Linked DNA regions of Homo sapiens: regions 1, 2, 3 and 5 are each linked to region 4. The links are contacts of gene promoters, found by promoter capture Hi-C in blood cells and fetal thymus (Javierre and others, 2016). All regions are on one chromosome and are shown on one strand. Each heading gives the region's core, a stretch centred on a gene start or on the middle of the fragment in contact. The rest is flanking DNA. Distances are from core to core; before and after follow the strand shown.

Region 1 (3,944 bases), core at 546-3,045, 1.4 Mb before region 4:
ATAATTCCAGAATTTGGGGAGGGTGTTTCCAATGATGAGCTAGTGTCTTTGAGGCTTTTAATTTGACACTTATCACTTACTAAATTTTGATGTTTTGTAAAAAAATACCACAATATTTAACAGAGCAAAAAGGATGAAAAATACAACAGTTTCTGGAATTGAAAAAGGAAATAACACATTTCAGTACTGGGCACACATGTTTTAGCCTGAAAGGACACAACTATCCATGCTAAATTTAAGAATGTATTTGCCTCAGATTCAGATGTTTTGAAATGGAAATTGCATTGATAAACTGCTACCTAAAGATTGTTTTATAGTAAGTCTAAAAAAAGTAATCAGTCCATCTGACTTTCAGTTGTGAGACTAGGCATATTTTACAATTTAGCTTTAACTCCAAAATAATCAAAATAGAACCCTGTAAGTCTGGAATGTGTCTAATTCTCAACAGGAGACAATAAATTGGGAAATTAACTTTCCAACTTGAATACTAGATAACTTTTCTTCTCAGCAGAAAATTAACTTGGTAAAATCAAATACATATGGAAAACATAGTCTAGCGGTTTGAGGTTCAGACATAAAGCCAGGAGGCTCTGTCACTGATTTGTTATGCTTAGACAGTGTTCCAACTTCACCCTGCCTCCATTTGCAAATTTATAAAGTAAAAAATGTAACACCAAACAGAAGCTAAATGGAGATCAATGAGCTATCGGCCCTGCACAGAATCTTAATCATCTTAAAAGCAAAACAAAATAAACAAAAAGTCCAAGTCTCCCTCAAAAATCCCAGGGTTTTTCTGAAACTATACAATATATTTTGTTATATCATATGTATATATCCTATAAATTAACAAAAATTGCAAGTTGAGTTCTCCAACTATTCTCCTGACATAACTGAATCAGAAGAACCGTTTTCTAACTTCTCTGTGAGAATAAAATCACCATTTGATACACAGGTCTGGAGGATCTCAAGATTGGCTGCATATTTCTGCCCCATCAATGTTTTCTTCTCCTAAGCATTTTTTCCTATCCTTGCACAGAAACTTCAAAACCTCTTTTGTCATCATAGTCACTAATTCTGGCTGTGCAAACACACTAGGTAATAAGTCCAACTCCCCATACCCTGGCAGCATTTGGGATGTTGGAAGACTGCAACTTTTCTCTAAGACAGAACTTATCATGGCATATAGTGGGTTAAATCTGTACCCTGCATCATTCCAAAGTTGTTTTTTAAATTAAAATTAATGTATATATTGCCATGTGAAAAAAAGAGAAACAAATTTCTATTACTGTTCAGAATTTTGATTTGAGACCAATTCACATTTTTAAGTGGACTAATATTTTAGATGACTAATTTATCACCCTACCCATCTCAAATAATGAATGGGAGAGGGCCTGAATAATATGGATTGCTTATTACAGCATCTGCAAGACAGCATATTGTAAACAAAAGTTTGTCAAACTGAAATGTTCAGTTAAATAAGTATTGGTCTGTCTTAAGTAACTTATGACCAGTATGATTGCTGAAAAAACCCTATTTACCACGTCCCTTGTATTTGTCAGCAGTTGGGGTGATACAGTGATTATATTTAGATCAGAAAATCCAAAAATAGCCAAATTTTATTCTTAACTACTTCTACTAGACTCCATAAGCTTCCTATGATTCATAAATAGGAAGGCAGACAAAGCAAAATAATACTTTAATAGCCAAAGCTTTGTCTCCAAATTTTAATGTAGAACTCTGAGTTCTGCTTACCTATATAAATAAATACTTTTCCCTAAACCAGATCACCTTGAATTAGTTAGTTCTGTCTATTTCACCTAACCTTGAACTAGACTTTCAGTTCTCAATACTATGATATAAGGAAGATCATACCAATTACAGCAAGCTTCACAAAAAAGAGTAAGAAAAAGCTCTTATCCATATAATCCCATAATGACCCAGGAATACTGTGTAAAAATTGGAGAATAGTTATCTTTTACCAATTCACAAAAAATATAATATTAATAAATATGGATTCTTAATTTTAGGTTCTCCTGTGTGTGTTGTTTTCTTGTGCAATATCTGCAATCACTTATTTCAACCAGAATCTATAAGATGGTAGCTAATTTAGCTCAAATACTTTAAAACTGTTCTTAACAGTGGTGGCTCACACCTGTAATCCCAGCACTTTGGGAGGCCAAGGCAGGAGGATCACCTGAGGTCAGGAGTTCCAGACCAGACTAACCAACATGGCAAAACCCCATCTCTACTAAAAATACAAAAATTAGCCATGTGTGGTGGTGGGAGCCTGTAATCCCAGCTACTTGGGAGGCTGAGGCAGGAGAATTGCTTGAACCCAGGAGGCAGAGGTTGCAGTGAGCTGAGATCGCGCCACTGCACTCCAATCTGGGCGATAGAGCAAGACTTTGTCCCAAAAAAAAAAAAAAACAAAACAAAAAAACAACTGTTCTTAAGTTGTATAAGTCAGTATCTCATATTGTTCTACAAAGAGCACATTGATTTCTAGGTTTCCCACCAATGGAAGAATTTTAAGAACCTTTCATCAAAAGCAATGGTACAGAATCACCTTAAGGGCTCATTAATATAGATACTGCTGGGTTCTACTCCCTGCAATTCTGATATAGTATCTAAGATGAGTCCCAAGAATTTATATTTCTAATAAGTTCCCAGGTGATAATGATGATGAACCACACTTTGAGAACCGCTGTCGTAGAAGGCGAATATAAATGAACCTGTTTCACTTTCAGGTATACAGGAAGGTATAGTATAGAACAAAGATAATAGGTTTTAGATTTAAACAGAACAAAGTTTAAACCCCTGGGCTATCTTTTTCTAATTGTCATCTAACCTCTAAGTATCTTTCTTAATCTTTAAAATGAAGTAATAATAACCGCCAGTACAGCTATGTGGTAAAGTTTAAATATAACATGCTTATAGAGCCTGGTATAAAGTAGGTACTCAAATATTGGTTTCTTTCCGTGCTACATACGTTTCTTAATGTGTGTATAGCCCCCATCATCCTTTCTCTTCCAAGAATAAGTTCATAGAAAGAACTCATCAACTTAATTTCTTTTGACGCTGATGACAATTTTTTTTTCAACTAAGAAAATATCTAGGCTTACTCAGCTCCAAAGTCATTGTTTATTTAATTTTTTTTTTTTTTTTTTTTTGAGACAGAGTCTTGCTCTGTCGCCCAGGCTGGAGTGCAGAGGTGCGATCTTGGCTCACTGCAAGCTCCGTCTCCCAGGTTCATGCCATTCTCCTGCCTCAGCCTCTCGAGTGGCTGGGACTACAGGCGCATGCCACCACACCCAGCTAATTTTTTTTTTGTATTTTTAGTAGAGATGGGGTTTCACCGTGTTAGCCAGGATGGTCTCAATCTCCTGACCTCGTGATCTGCCCACGTCGGCCTCCCACAGTGCTGGGATTACAAGCAAGAGTCACCTCGCCTGGCCTCTTTAACTTTTAACTACAGTTAAGGGTATTTTGCATATAGCAAAGATGTAATAGAATATAAGCAAAGCAAACCAATCGCGTGGGTAAGTACAGGGTAAAAGTTTAAAATTTAAATCCCAATTATGGGTTCACTTAACTGAATAGTCTAGTAGGTCCCATTGAATAACCTGGTATTTCTACCTACCTACAGTAACAGTTAAAATAATAGCAATGATAAAGATAACCATACCACAACCACTACTATAAGTATAGCCCTTTAATAGGTCTATCCACCTTTTGTAATATACAGATTTTTAAGTCACAAACTTTGTGACTAAATTAAAGACTGGGTCTGGATAAATGGATGAAAATTCAACCCTTGGCTTTACAATTGTAACTATAACAACAAAATGTAAAAGGAATACAACTTAAGATGAAGTTCCTCTTGAAAAGATCTGATATTAACTGGGATATCTAAATCTTAGACATAATAAATTTTTATACAAATC
Region 2 (3,522 bases), core at 511-3,010, 1.4 Mb before region 4:
GGCAGCTGAAATTCAAAACCAAGTCTGTTTCACTCATTTATTCATTGAGTAAATTTTTAACTGAAATTCCTCTGCTCTTTCAACCATAATGCGTTATCAATTTGGAGGAATTTTTTTTTCATGTTTATGCAAAGCTTCGTAACAACAATAAGAGACTTTGGGCACACAAAGACAAAGGTACATCCACAAAAGTAGAACATTTGATACTTAGCATATTAGGTGTAGCTTAATGTAGTCTGGATATGATTAGGCTTAATCTGTGTACATCTTTACTTACCAGTTTATATTTCACACAGATGCAAAATCGGATGGTGATTTTACTTTGTAACCTGAAACCTGCAAAGATGAGGGGAGTATTATCTCAAGCAATGGTCATGTGTGCTAGTTCACCAGAGAAAATTGAAATCTTGGCTCCTCCAAATGGGTCTGTTCCTGGAGACAGAATTACTTTTGATGCTTTCCCAGGTAGGTATTTATTAGTAATTACTTAATAGTTTCGGAATCAGTTCTCAAAGTGATGTTTGTAATGCTTAAAGGTTAAAATCAGTCCTGTGTAAGAATCATGAGTCTTACATTAATGACCATTATTAACTATTATTGAGTTTTTCAAGATTGGCTCAAGATGACACATTGAGTAAACCTTGTAATCATTCTCCTCCCCATGAATGTACATGTTGTATAAAACACCTGATATGGTTTGACTATGTCCCCACCAAAATCTCATCTTGAATTGTAGTTCCCATAATCCCTACATGTCATGGGAGGGACCCGGTGGGAGGTAACTGAATCCTGGGGGCAGGTTTTACCTGTGCTGTTCTCATGATAGTGAATAAGTCTCATGAGATCTCATGGTTTTATAAAAGGGCAGTTCCCCTACGCATGCTCTCTTGTCTGCTACTATATAAGACATGCCTTTGCTCCTCCTTTGTCTTCTGCCATGATCGTGAGGCCTCTGCAGCCATGTGGAACTGTTGGTCAATTAAACCTCTTTCTTTTATAAATTACCCAGCCTCGAGTATATCTTTATTAGCAGCGTGAGAATAGACTAATACAGTAAATTGATACTGGGTAGTAGGGACACTGCTGTAAAGATATCCGAAAGTGTGGAAGCGACTTTGGAACTGGGTAACAGGCAGAGATTGGAACAGTTTGGAGGGTTCAGAAAAAGATAGGAAAATGTGGAACAGTTTGGGACTTCCTGGATACTTTCAGGGCTCAGGAGATAGGAAAATGTGGGAAAGTTTGGAACTTTCTAGAGACTTGTTGAATGGCTTTGACCAAAATGCTGATAGTGATACGGACAATACAGTCCAGGCTGAGGTGGTCTCAGATAGAGATGAGGAGCTTGTTGGGAACTGAAGCAAAAGTGACTTTTGCTATACTTTAGCAAAGAGACTGGTGGCATTTTGCCCTTTCCCTAGAGATCTATGGAACTTTGAACTTGAGAAAGATGAGTTAGGGTATCTGGCAGAAGAAATTTCTAAGCAGCAAAGCATTTAAGAGGTGACTTGGGTGCTCTTAAGCATTCAGTTGTATTCATTCACAAAGACATGGTTTGGAATTGGAACATGTTTAAAAGGGAAGCAGAGCATAAAAGTTTGAAAAATGTTCAGACTGAAGATGCAGTAGAAAAGAAAAACCCATTTCTGCCAGCTGCAGAAATTTGCATAAGCAATGAAGAGCCAAATGTTAATTGCCAAGACAATGGGGAAAATGTCTCCAGGGCATTTCAAAGACCTTCACAGCAGCCCCTCCTATCACAGAACCTGAGGCCTAGGAAGAAAAAATGGTTTCCTGGGCTGGGCCCAGGGCCCCCGTGCTGTGTGCAGCTTAGGGACTTGGTGCCCTGCTTCCCAGCTGCTGCAGCCATGGCTAAAAAGGGCTAAGGTACAGCTCAGGCCCTTGCTTCAGAGAGTGCAAGCCCTAAGCCTTGACAGCTTCCACATGGTGTTGAGCCTGCAGAGGCACAGAACTGAGGTTCGGGAACCTCCGCCTAGATTTCAGAAGATGTATGGAAGCCCCTGGATGTCCTGGCAGAAATTTGCTCTAGGGGCAGGGCCGTCATGAACCTCTACTAAGACAGTGCAGAAAGGAACTGTGGGATGGGACCCCCCCACACACAGAATCCCCACTGGGGCACTGCCTAGTGGAGCTGTGAGAAGAGGGCCACTGTCCTCCAGACCCTAGAATCATAAATCCACTGACAGCTTCCGCAGTGTGCCTGGAAAAGCTGCAGACATTCAACTCCAGCCTGTGAAAGCAGCTGGGATGGTGGCTGTGCCCTACAAAGCCACAGGGGTAGAGCTGCCCAAGGCTGTGGGAGCCCACCTGTTGCATCAGCATGACCTGCGTGTGAGACATGGCGTCAAAGGAGATCATTTTGGAACTTTGAGGTTTGATGACTACCCTGTTGGATTCCAGACTTGCATGGGGCCTATGGGCCCTTTGTTTTGGTCCAATTTCTCCCATTTGGAATGGTGTATTTACCCAATGCCTGTACCCCCAATGTATTCTGGAAGTAACTAACTTGCTTTTGATTTTATGGCTCATAGGCAGAAGGGACTTGTCTTGTCTCAGATGAGATGCTGGACTGTGGGCTTTTGAGTTAATACTGAAATGAGTTAAGACTTTGGGGAACTGTTGGGAAGGCATGATTGGTTTTGAAATGTGAGGACATGAGATTTGGGAGGGGCCAGGGGCAGAATGATATGGTTTGGCTGTGTCCCCACCCAAATCTCATCTTGAATTATAGCTCCCACAATTTTCACCTGTCGTGGGAGGGACCTGGTAGGAGGTAATTGAATCCTGGGGGAGGGTTTTTCCTGTGCTGTTCTCATGATAGTGAAAAAGTCTCATGAGAGCTGATGGTTTTATAAAAGGGCAATTCCCCTACACGTGCTCTCTTGCCTGCTGCCATGTAACACATGCTCCTCTTTAACCTTCTGCCATGTGGCGGCCTCCACTGCCATGTGGAACTGTGAGTCAATTAAACCTCTTTCCTTTAGAAATTACCCAACCTTGGATGTATCTTTATTAGCAGCATGAGAACAGACTAACAGAACACCACAGAGAGATTTTGTCCTAACTAAAGCAATAATATTAATACCAGCGTAGCAGAAAAGTATGACGTGGATAGAGAACAGATTAATGTGCTGCAAAATCTCTTATGCTGTAGATTGTCTCATGCTGCAGCACAGAAAGACAGAGATGAAAAGTTTAGATTTATAATTATAAATTCCATCTAATAATATACTTGCATATGTTTTTACTCAAATTCAGGATATAGAGAAAATATCTAAGTTAAAATGTAATGATTTTAATAATCTAAAAGGAAGTTTCATTTTGTATTGCCTGTTTTCTCTAATAAAAATACTCCTGAGACAGATGAAGCTTCATAATGTGTGAGAAAGTTTCTTCAAATAGGTCTTTGAAGCAGAAGAGAAAAGATTCTTGGCAGATATAGAATAAGTATTTATCTCATATAAGAGGAAGGACCTGATAAAAAGAAAAACAGTTAGAAAT
Region 3 (3,877 bases), core at 434-2,933, 1.4 Mb before region 4:
CCACTGCACTCCAGCCTGGGCAACAGAGCAAGACTGTCTCAAAAACAACAACAAAAAAAAGAAGACGAAAAGTGCTTCCTTCAAGTGAAAAGGTGAAAGTTCTCGACTTGATAAGGAAAGAAAAAAAACCAGTTGTTAAGATACATGGTAAGAAATTTTCTATTCGTGAAATTGTGAAGAAAAAAGAAAATCATACCAGTTTTGCTCTCACGCCTCAAACTACAAAATTATGACCACATTGCAAGAGAAGTGTCTAGTTAAGATGGAAAAGGCATTAAATTTGTGAGTAGAAGACATAAACAGAAGAAACACGTTCTGACTGATAAGAATCAGATTCGGTACAATCCTCAGTTTTAGACATCCACTGGGGGTGCTGGGGGCCTTCTTGGAACATATCCCCTGAGGAAAAGGGGGGCCTACTGTGATATCTTTTTTCCTATCAGATAATATATTTTATGATGGCAGGAATGAGGTGGGTCTCATCACAGGTGCCTAGCAGTGCATCAGTAGTTGCACACAGGTGCATCACAGTAGTACATCACAGGAGCCTAGTGCACACAGGTGTACTGCATCACAGGTGTCTAGAATGTCACCTACAACATATAGGCATGTAATATAAAGATAACTGTTAGATGAATTAACTTTAGCAAAGGCATGATGTGGCCATTAGAAATGAAGAATCTCATATGACCACAGTCACTGAACAGAGCCCTGTCCTGTGTAGAAAATTACATGCCCACGTTATAAACTCAGTATAACTCAGTAGCACTGACTTTCATGTAAAACAAAAACAAAATAATTTATTAAAATGTGCATATTCCATTAATTAACCATTTTAAATTGGATATTCATAATTCTTCATATCTATAAGAGATTTCCAAAGTATCTGGCACAACTAAAATTTTTCAGGTTTCTGGAAACCCCTTCAAAACATCATAAACAAGTGTTTGCCAAAGCTTCAAGATTCTATGGAACTATTAAGCATAGTTTTAATACTGCTGAGCCATAATCCTCAGCAGAACATCAAAGTTTCTCCCAGAGATAATGGAGTGTATACCAAAACAATATTTCCAATATGAACCATTTTTTTAAAGAAATCTTTAGAGAGTCTTCATTCTGAAATCTCTGGACCACTGTTTAAAAATAACATGTTATAAAAACAATATAGTTTCACAGAATAAAGCATTTAGGAATCATAATGTGCCAAATATAAATCATCAATGTAGTAGCATTATTTATAAAAAATAATGTGATGCTAAGATGAACTTTAAAGAGTAGAATATACAATAATTGTGAAATAGTCTTACTTCTAACAAAGATTTGAGGAAGCAAAAGTATGATGTAGCGTCTCTAGCCTGAACTGTGTGTTTTAGGTTTGACAGGGCTTGGCTGTGTTCCCACCCAAATCTCATCTTGAATTCTCACGTGTTGTGGGAGGGACCCAGTGGGAGGTAATTGAATCACAGGGGAGGTCTTTCCCATGCTGTTCTTGTGATAATTAATAAGTCTCATGAGATCTGATGGTTCTATAAGGGGGAGTTTCCTTGCACAAGTTCTCTTTTTTTGGCCTGCTGCTATCCATGTAAGACGTGACTTGCTCCTCCTTGCCTTCCACCATGAATGTGAGGCCCCACCAGCCACGTGGAACTGTAAGTCCATTAAACGTTTTTCCTGTACAAATTACCTAGTTTTGGGTATGTCTTTATCAGCAGTGTGAAAACAGGCTAATACAAAGTTAACACTAAGAAACTGAAGAGAACACACATTTAAGCAAGAATAAAGGAGTTGAATAAGGAGTAGGGGGAAGTAAAATAAAGTTTTTTAAAGTAGTGGTTTTTTTGTTTAAATTTAGAGAAAGAGGTGAATCATGAATGTCTTAAAATAATATAAAGGGTTATTACAATATATTTACTGCATCACTTTTGTTATTAACAGTAAAAATCGAGACTAGCTCATCACCTTTAAAATATGATATTTCAATAAGTGTTTATACAGTTCAAAACCAACAAAGAAAAACATTATGCTTAAAGAATAGTATTGGTACCAGAACACTGTGATGGTCAGTTTTATGAGTCAGCTTAGCTAGAATATAGAATCCAGTCATTCAATCAAATACTAATCTAGATGTTGCTGTGAAATTATTTTGTAAATGAGTAAAGTCTATAATCAGTTTACTTTAAGGGAAATTATCCTAGATAATCAGGGTAATCCTGATTCAATCAGTTTAATAGCCTTTAAGAGCAGAATTGAAAGCCAAGTACACTGGCTCACACCTATAATCCCAGCTACATGAGAGGCTGAGACGGGAGGATCACTTTAAGCCAGGAGTTCAAGACCAGCTTGGGCAATATAGTGAGACTCCTGTCTCTGAAAAATAAATAAATAAATAATAAATAAATATGAGCAGAATTGAAGCTTCCATGAAGAACAATAAATTCCAACTGTGGATGACAGCTTGAGCTTCTGCCCAAGAGTTCAGCTTGTCCTTCTTGAAGACCTGCCTCATGGATTTCAAACTTGCCTAGCAGCACCCCACAATCATGCAAACCAATTCCCAGCAATTCTTTTTTATATATTCATATAACTTACATAAATAACTTATATAATTATATATATAATTTGTTCTGTTTCTCTTATGAAACTAATACAGATTAAAATTTATATGCTAGAGATACAGAATAAATTATCTTGTAGTTCCATATAATTCTATTATTCTCTACTTTAATTTCAAATAAAATAATTTTTATTCTTGATTTCACCAGCAATCATTGAAAGATTTCTGGATAATCAATACCAAATAAAAAAGGATGCACTACCATTTACCATCTTCACTCTGCTTCTAAACACAGCTGAGATTTCAAGCTCACAAGAAAAGATAAAATTTGTTAACATAGTATTTTCAGGCTTTACTGGCTTTTTTTCTCCTAAAGATATTTTTCTCCTATTAGAAAAAAAATTCTGAAACTCTAATAAAATGTTTGCCATTCCTGAGATTAAAAACTTCATCCTGCTGAGTTAGCAAGAAAATATTATCATCTTTGATTAGTTTCGAATGATCTATAGAAAACAGTGAAAGCTAGACTTCTGAGCTAACATAACATGTGAAAACATAATGTTACTAAAACAGACCACATGTAACAAGAGTATGTGACTCCAAGTAAGAAGTCAATTGTTACTGACTTAACAATAACATGCAGGGTGGGAGGGGGCATGACTAACAATAGCAAGATATCTGCATAGCAAGAACAGAATAAAAGAGGAAAAGTAGAATCAAAATCAAAATTCTTTGAGGAGACACAAATCAAAGTCATGTGGTATTACACCATTGAAAAATATGTGTTCATATTGAGAAATACTTTCACTAAGGAGACTGTTCATCAGAAACTTCAAATTTTTCAAAGTAGATGCAACTGAAATGACTAGAATGTTTTGGAACAAACAGACTTTTACATAAGCAATTACTCTAACGGTAAATTATTCCTTATACACACAACTTTTCAGAATGCTAAACATTGCCAATAAAAACAAGATAATCAAATTCCCTAGCCTAATGACAATCCATATTTTCATTTCAGACAACTAGACTTAGAATATATAAACTTTACACATATTCATGACCTATGTTACCCTAGCAGAGAGGGCTGCTGAAATACAGGAGTAGCAGGGCAGGTCAGGGAAGCAGAGTAAACAGCAATATAGTGGACAGGGCTAACGGGACTAACCATGCTGTTGAACTGGCCTCAGAGAACAACAATCAGTAGAACGATTACAGTTTCTAAGCGGATCAGTTCCCACCCGACTTTGATAATCAAAAAGAAGGTTCACAGGGAAAATAAGGAAGAATACTCCCCAAAGAGAATCATGCTATAACGCAGTT
Region 4 (3,943 bases), core at 196-2,695:
ACCGTGAAACACCTTAAGGTAAGAGAAGCGAAACTGAGTCTGAGTTTCAAGGCAGTGGTTTCACCGCACATTCAAATTCATGATCTGTCTTCTTTGTTCATCAAAACAATCCCGTGAAGTACATACTATTATACCCTTAAGTCAACTGAGGTTCGAAAAAGTAAAGTGACTCTCCTCAAGATCACACAGCTAGTAAATGGCAAAGCTGGGATGAGAGACCAGGCCAGGAGTCCAGCGCTCTTTCCACTGTTCTAATTCATCTTTTAAATCTCCTTCCCCTCCTTACCATCTATAGAGTTAAATAAAAGGAGAGAGGAATCAGTAAACAACTCATGATAACAATAACAACAGATGTGGTAAATTAATGACTTCCAAAGAACATTTGCCTGAAATTGCTTGTTTTTTTTTTCTTTGATTCATCTAGGGCAAGTAACGTTTTGGGAGACATTGCATTTAAACCTTATTATTCCATTGGACTGTGAAATAACGTTTCCGTCTAAACTTAAACCAGTGCCTTTCCAGACTCCAAAGATGGGCCCTTCCCTGCTGCACACTTACAAAGGAAGATAAGGCTCTTTCTCATCACAGAGAAATTAAGGAAGTAAGCAACGTTATGAGGACACAGCACTTTACAAAGTCAACTGGCAGTCATTACTAAACGTTATAAAGGACTGGTCCCATACCTGACTGTCACCAGGAATGGAGTCTTCCAAACTCCTACTTGTTAAACATTCCGATTTAACACAGAGACACAAAGAACCTCAGTTCAGGGCAGTCTCAACTCATGAATGACCACATTGTTGGGTACTCTCCTTTCACACTGAAACTCAGAAATGGAAAGACACGGAGATGGACCCAAACCTGGGCCAACCGCACTGGCAGAGCCAAGAAAAACCAAGAACGCGTCGAAGGCGCCCGCCTCCGCCTTCTCTGCACATCTTCAGGCCACTCCAAGGTATGCAGGAAGCTCCTGTTTCTGCAGCCGCAGGTTTCAGCACCCGGAGGTTTCAGCAAGCGCCAGTTCACGGGTGAAGGATTTTCCTGGGGGTCTTACCTGAGCGGAGGCGCTGGGGAGGGGGGGCGTTCTTCCCACGAACGGTGGCTCGGACCGCACGCTGCGCCAAGCTAGGGCGAGATCCCCACCCTGCGCCGCGCCCCTCTGCCTCGCAACCACCCACGGCCCCAGCCGGGAGGCGCCGCAGCCCCGGAACCCACCTCCGCGCTCCTGGAAGGATGGATGCGGAGGAGGCGGGAGAGAGGCGGCGGCTCCGGAACGAGCTGCTCCCACAGCCCCTCCGCTCCTCGCCGTCTCGCCTTCGTCCCCAGCTTACCCAGTTCTGCGCGTTATTGCTCAGTTTGACTTTCTTGCACAGGCTCCCGGGGATCTCCATGACCGCGGAGCGCGCTGAGCAGCCGGGGTTCTCTGCGCCGGGAGGGTAGCAAGAGGAGGGCAGGCCAGCGAGCGGGGCGGGGCTGGAGGGCGGGGCCTCCTCGCGTCGGAGCGGGCGCGCGCTGACTTAAGCACGCGCCCGTGCTCGTGGCCTGGGTTGCGCGGCGCATGCGGCGCGCCTCGGAAATGGGTCCGGGGCAGAGGTCTGTGGGGAAGGGCGAAACGCCGGGATAGAACCGGAGGTAGAAGCTGGGGGCGGAGCTTCAGCGCTCGCGCCGGCGCGGGCGCGCACGGCGCTCCTCCTTCCAGATCCCGATGAAGGGGCGGGGCCTGGAATGCAGTCGTGGAACCTCAGGTGCCTCTGCGGCACCGAGCCTAGCTCTGAGCTAACGCAGATCTCTAAGAGCGAGTACCAGCCGCCGGGAGAAAGGCAAGGGGAGTGCGCGGCTCGCCGCGCGCGGCACTCCCTCAGCAGAGGCTGATTGGGAGGACGCTGACGCGGCCTCTTGCACCTGTGGCTACTCCTCCACAGACCTGGCTGCCGACCTCCTGTCTGCCCCTTCTGTGCCCATGTCACCCTGGCCAAATGTTTTAAATGTTTTACAGCTTTGCAAAGGGAAGAATTGATTTACCGAACAGCTCATTCTCCACATTAAAATTCTACTCAAGACACAATTTTTTTTCTTTTTTTGAGACGGAGTCTTGCTCTGTCGCCCAGGCTGGAGTGCAGTAGTAGGATCTCGGCTCACCGCAACCTCTGCCTCCCGGGTTCAAGCGATTCTCCTGCCTCAGCCTCCCGAGTAGCTGGGACTACAGGCGTGTGCCACCACGCCCGGCTAATTTTTGTATTTTTAGTAGAGACGGGGTTTCACTATGTTGGCCAGGCTGGTCTCGAATTCCTGACCTCATGATCCGCCCGCCTCAGCTTCCCAAAGTGCTGGGATTCCAGGCGTGAGCGACAGCGCCTGGCCTCAAGACACAGTTTTTAAAAAGATATAATAAAAGCCCGATTTCTTGACATCAATAATTAATATCTCAACCTGGATTAGTGATTACTTATAAGGTGCCTCCCTCTCCGCTAGGAGACCCCACTTCGCATCAGATTTCTGTGCAGTGCTTCTTACCGACCTACACCGGAAAGGGGCTTCTGTATTATTAAGAGCTACTCAGGAAATACCTAGAGGACTGAAATCCAGGACCGGGGAGGCCGCAGGTAACCCCGAATAGAACTCCCGCCTACGGAGGACATTTTCAAATTCACCTAATTATTCCAGGGCTAGTTCGTAGGAGGATGGGCTGGGGGCATGACAGAGTTTCCTCCAGGAGTTATCTTCCCCACACCCCCCATAACTCTGAGTTCTCTTTTCCGCAGCTTGCCCCTGGCACCAAAAGAGTTGCTTGCAGCTCTGCCCCCCTGTGACACAGCCGCCCTCCGCCCCTGACCCCGCCCATCACCAAGACCTGAGACTGCTGCCTGTTAGTGACTAGCAAATTAGCCCCCATCACCAAGACCTGAGGCTGCTGCTGCTGCCTGTTAGTGACTAGCAAATCAGCCCCCATCACCAAGACCTGAGGCTGCTGCCTGTTAGTGACTAGCAAATCAGCCCTCCATCTATTTGCCCCACTGCTACTGTCTTAAATTAGGCCTCCCCTATATCCAGCCTGAGTTATCATTAAGCCCGTTCACTGGACATCCTCCCAGCTGTGCAGCCGCTCTCCACATCCCCGCCACACACCCCATTCTTGCACCTGCTGTCAGAGCGGTATTTCTGAAACAGAAATCTGATCTTGTTACTTGACTACTTAAAATGTGAATGGTTCCCTTCAGCTTTTTTTCTAGGGAATTTTCAATCTGGGGTTCATACATAGAACTGAATTTCAATATAATTTCAAATTCTGCCAATAACAGGAATGAGCTTGGAAGAAGATCTCAAGCTTCATATGAGAAAATAGGGCCACATCTGAAGTTAGCCATTGCTCTGAGTTCTGGTTCTTATTAGAGGGAAATGGTATTTAGATATAACGATCTGGCTCTAGGAGTGCTCACTGCTGTGAGTTTGACCTTATTTCTAGTAAAAGACTTTTTTTAAGGTAAAATATATCATAAGTTTACATTGATACTGTCCATCCAAATTCATGATTCCAGATATGGGTCATGCAAATGAGCCAGAAACATCAAACAGGAAACATAACAAAAAACTGTCAAAAGCTACTCGGATTATGTCAAAAGGACTCAGAAACCAATTTAAAGAAATTTTTCCATGTCAAAGATGGGAGAATTAAAGCACTAAATGGACTAGAACTACAAAATATTAAAACATATCAAATATGTTTAAATCTAGGTGTTTGTAATGATGATGATTTTAAAAAAAATTATTGTCACTCTTAGAGAATGCTAGGAAACCAACTCATTATTTTGAAAACTGGTAAATAAAGGGGATGAATTAAGCATTTACTCTGCTTTCCCTGGACTGTCTGGGACCCAAAAAATTGATAAAGAGAAGTTTCTCTTTACAGAAGTACCACTAATAAATAAAGAAGAAATGATATCAT
Region 5 (3,877 bases), core at 119-2,618, 1.4 Mb before region 4:
AGAGGGTCATGGGAGGCCAAGGCATACTCCTTTTTAAATTTTATGGACTCTGTACTGGGGAGGAAAGTTTTTGTGTTAATGACGATGGTATTTAGAAATGCATGGACTGGCCTCTCATAGCTGTCCACCCTATAGTCATTCCTTATAGCCATCCTTTAAACCCTCCAGGACCCCCTATGTCCTCATCAGTAAAGGGAAAGCAGGCTGTCTGGTAAGGGAAATAGGAACTTCCATAAAAAAGCAATTTTAGATATTCTTTTTATAGGTTTTGGCAAAGGTTGATAAAAGACCTAGGGAATTACTGCTGGTTGCTGCGCTTACATATTTTGAGTGTCTTCAGATGCATTGTTCTCAGTGTATTTAATTTTCTTCTTTAAATTCTGACTTTTGACACATATGATTTAAATCCTAGCAGGAATTTTCACCTAGTGCTAAAAGGTACCACATTGCTTTACACTATAATAAGGACGGTCTTTCAGTGTGGGGTATTTTATGTATACTATAATATTTTTACATATCCAGTAATTAGATTGTGTAGCAAATCAGGGAAAGAAGTTGGAAGGCAAGAATAGGAATGAAGGGAGGAGAAGAAAGGAAGAAAATGATTAAAATTACTATATTCCATCAATTCTGAGATACACATTTTTCTCTTACTTAACATCTCTGAAATAGGGATGTATTTTTAAGTTGTTGACATCTTTAAATCACTGTAGATGAATTGGCAGTTGTGAGATATTTGTCATTGCCCACACTTACACCCACTTAGTCATAACTTAATCTTGTCATTATTTCAGTTGAGTTATATATGCACTATTGGCATATAGTTGTTGAGTGTAATTTCCCTTTTAAAGATCATTTAGAAGATTATGATTAGCATTAGAATGAAAAGTTACTGTGTATGTGGGGAAACAAAGGGTGATACAAGATAAAAATCCAGGGTTAAATTTAAAAGAAGTCTGTCAATAAATAATATAGGATGTGTCTAAGTAATAAGAAAGCATTGGGTCAGTTGATTCAATAGTGTTTTTTTTCATAATGTACATAAAATAATAGAGCTTCTTGGGATTGAAGCCATTTTACAATTGATGGCATTTTAGATTTCTTGTATAGTATTTAAAGCTTCCAACAAAAATGTAAATTTTTACCTACTGTAATTCTGAAATAGGGAAATTAGAGGTTTTGAGTAGAGACACTTTCAAATTTGTGTAGCGTTCCTATATAGCATAAGAATTCTAAAATTAAAAGTCTGCCTGTAAAACTTTGATTTCAAAGTAGTAACTTACTTATGTTTGATTCCCAATGTTGTCATCGTGGGGCAGAGATTTTGCTTTTTCAAAAAGATTGCAGGCAATTTAGATGGTGTGGGTGGGGAGGACTACTGAGGAAATTGCTCAGTAAACAAAAATGATAGTGAAGATCTCAGAATCTCAAAAATCATCTTTTGTGTGTGTATTTTAATGATTAAGATGTACTATAAATTCATGTACAGTATTTGGGATTCTGCATTAGAGGCATCGTATGATTAATGGCTTTTTAGGTTTGATGAAGTATGATAATTAACATTGAGAAGGACAAAATTAATGTGAAGGGACAGAATGATTTAGATAATATGTTTCAAAAGCTTTTGTCCTAAAAAATGCATTATTACCATTTTAATTTAGTAAAGGAAAAAGAAAAGGTCTTGATCCTCACCAAACACAATTAACATACTTGGTCTACAGTTTTCTGTGCTTCTCTCTTCATAAATGTTTTATATTTTCAATTACTGTGCATGTCATTCTTATATCTATTTTAATCTCACAGTCTTAATTTTTTTACATTTTAGTCCAGAGACTTAAACTAGCATTTCCTAAACTGTTTTAGAGAATACTAGTTCAAATAAATGTTAATAGCTGTTCCTGTGTTAGGATTCTGTCATTAAATATATTGGAAAATGCTTCGTAATTATATCCTTTAGAGAAATTATAGCTAGAGCATTAAAAGAGCTAACTGCAGCATCAGACAGACCTGAGTTTCAATCCTCGTTTACTATGTATTACATGAGGCAAATTAATTTTAATTCAAGTTTTCTTCTCTGTATAATGGAGATTATTACAGTATTCGAAATTGACTTGTGTAAAGCATTTAGCCAGCCATAGCGCATGTTCTACAAATATATGTAGTTGTTATTATCATCTATGAGAAACTTTATACATATTAGAAACTCTGAGGATTTAAAATTTTGAAGGTTGACTTATACTCAATGTAAAATTGAAAAATCACAGGGGAGTAATTAGCATAGAGATTAATGAAATGAGCACTGGGTTGAATGGTAAAAGATTTGTTTGAGCTTTAAGCAGTATTGTTGTTAAACTATCACTGTGCCCTAAGCGTAACATTATTTTAAAAATGTCTTCAACTGTGTTTCCCCCATTTGTCTGAAAGCTTAGTTAGTTCAAAGAACATGTTTATTTTTGTTCTCTACTATAAACCCAGCACATGACACAAAATCAGGGAGTGTAAAGTTGGGGTCATGAACTTATTTTAGGAGCCTGGTAGGTAATATAAATGGCAGACAACAGGGAGTAGTAAAGTGTCTGTCTGTCTTACTTAAAGACATTCACATCAGTTATTTCCAACACTGTTAGCCCTGGAAAAGAAAGCTATCCCTGAACTTTGTCAGGCTAGTTTGTGATCCCTAGAAAAGATTAGTGATTAAGACCAAACCCTGAAGAACAGCATCATTAATGGGACAGATTAAAAAAAAAAGGAGCCCTGAAAGGAGGTGACAAGGAAGTAGGAGGTGAAATCAGGTACAAGTAATTTTTTAAATTAAGAAAAGTATAGCCCTCTCCCTCTCCCTCTCCCTCTCCGCACCGTCTCCCTCTGATGCCGAGCCGAGGCTGGACTGTACTGCCACCATCTTGACTCACTGCAACCTCCCTGCCTGATTCTCCTGCCTCAGTCTGCCGAGTTCCTGGGATTGCAGGTGCGCGCCGCCACTCCTGACTGGTTTTTGTATTTTTTGGTGGAGACGGGGTTTCACCGTGTTGGCCGGGCTGGTCTCCAGCTCCTGACCGCGAGTGATCTGCCAGCCTCGGCGTCCTGAGGTGCCGGGATTGCAGACGGAGTCTCGCTCACTCAGTGCTCAATGTTGCCCATGCTGGAGTGCAGTGGCGTGATCTTGGCTCGCTACAACCTCCACCTCCCAGCCGCCTGCCTTGGCCTCCCAAAGTGCCGAGATTGCAGCCTCTGCCCGGCCGCCACCCCGTCTAGGAAGTGAGGAGCGTCTTTGCCTGGCCGCCCATCGTCGGGGATGTGAGGAGCCCCTCTGCCCGGCCGCCCAGTCTGGGAAGTGAGGAGCACCTCTTCCCGGCCGTCATCCTGTCTAGGAAGTGAGGAGCGTCTCTGCCCAGCCGCCCATCATCTGGGATGTGGGGAGCATCTCTGCCCCGTCGCCCCGTCTGAGATGTGAAGAGCGCCTCTGCCCGGCCGCGACCCTGTCTGGGAACTGAGGAGTGTCTCTGCCCCGCCGCCACCCCGTCTGGGAGGTGAGGAGCGTCTCTGACCGGCTGCCCGGTCTGAGAAGTGAGGAGCCCCTCCGCCCGGCAGCCGCCCCGTCTGGGAAGTGAGGAGCGTTTCCGCTTTCCGCCCGGCAGCGGCCCCGTCCGGGAGGTGGGGGGCAGCCCCCGCCCGGCCGGCGCCCCGTCTGGGAGGTGGAGGGCGCCTCTGCCCGGCCGCCCCATCTGGGAAGTGAGGAGCCCCTCTGCCCGGCCGCCACCCCGTCTGGGAGGTGTACCCAACAGCTCATTGAGAACGGGCCATGATGACGATGGCAGTTTTGTCGAATAGAAAAGGGGGAAATGTGGGGAAAAGAAAGAGAGATCAGATTGTTACT

The links. Contacts are between HindIII fragments. The CHiCAGO score rates a contact against its expected background, and 5 or more counts as called.
Region 1: a contact is called between a fragment that was not itself captured here and the fragment with the promoter of PAPSS1 in region 4, in 1 of 17 cell types (total CD8 T cells). The highest score is 6.9, in total CD8 T cells.
Region 2: a fragment that was not itself captured here is called in contact with the fragment with the promoter of PAPSS1 in region 4 in 6 of 17 cell types (naive CD8 T cells, total CD4 T cells, total CD8 T cells and 3 more); the score reaches 8.4 in naive CD8 T cells.
Region 3: a contact is called between a fragment that was not itself captured here and the fragment with the promoter of PAPSS1 in region 4, in 5 of 17 cell types (naive CD8 T cells, naive B cells, activated CD4 T cells and 2 more). The highest score is 6.4, in naive CD8 T cells.
Region 5: a fragment that was not itself captured here is called in contact with the fragment with the promoter of PAPSS1 in region 4 in 8 of 17 cell types (total B cells, naive B cells, total CD8 T cells and 5 more); the score reaches 21.1 in total B cells.

What each region holds. Positions count from the first base shown.
Region 1 is chr4:106,269,340-106,273,283 of GRCh38, forward strand. The region is part of intron 3 of TBCK (TBC1 domain containing kinase); the gene reads right to left. Among named protein-coding and RNA genes, the nearest start is that of TBCK, 45 kb to the right of the region's middle. The HindIII fragment of the contact is 176 bases long and covers 1,708-1,883 here.
Region 2 is chr4:106,336,573-106,340,094 of GRCh38, forward strand. AIMP1 (aminoacyl tRNA synthetase complex interacting multifunctional protein 1) reads left to right here. Exons shown (of 7, transcript NM_001142416.2): 6 at 297-465. Among named protein-coding and RNA genes, the nearest start is that of AIMP1, 22 kb to the left of the region's middle. The HindIII fragment of the contact is 3,256 bases long and covers 133-3,388 here.
Region 3 is chr4:106,298,568-106,302,444 of GRCh38, forward strand. All of the region lies in intron 2 of TBCK (TBC1 domain containing kinase), which reads right to left. Among named protein-coding and RNA genes, the nearest start is that of TBCK, 16 kb to the right of the region's middle. The HindIII fragment of the contact is 1,459 bases long and covers 955-2,413 here.
Region 4 is chr4:107,718,789-107,722,731 of GRCh38, forward strand. PAPSS1 (3'-phosphoadenosine 5'-phosphosulfate synthase 1) reads right to left here and starts at 1,446. Exons shown (of 12, transcript NM_005443.5): 1 at 1,332-1,446. The coding sequence starts at 1,391. RefSeq lists enhancers at 699-758, 2,749-2,898 and a silencer at 1,389-1,638. The HindIII fragment of the contact is 5,198 bases long and covers 1-3,323 here.
Region 5 is chr4:106,317,922-106,321,798 of GRCh38, forward strand. All of the region lies in intron 1 of AIMP1 (aminoacyl tRNA synthetase complex interacting multifunctional protein 1), which reads left to right. Among named protein-coding and RNA genes, the nearest start is that of AIMP1, 3.3 kb to the left of the region's middle. The HindIII fragment of the contact is 502 bases long and covers 1,118-1,619 here.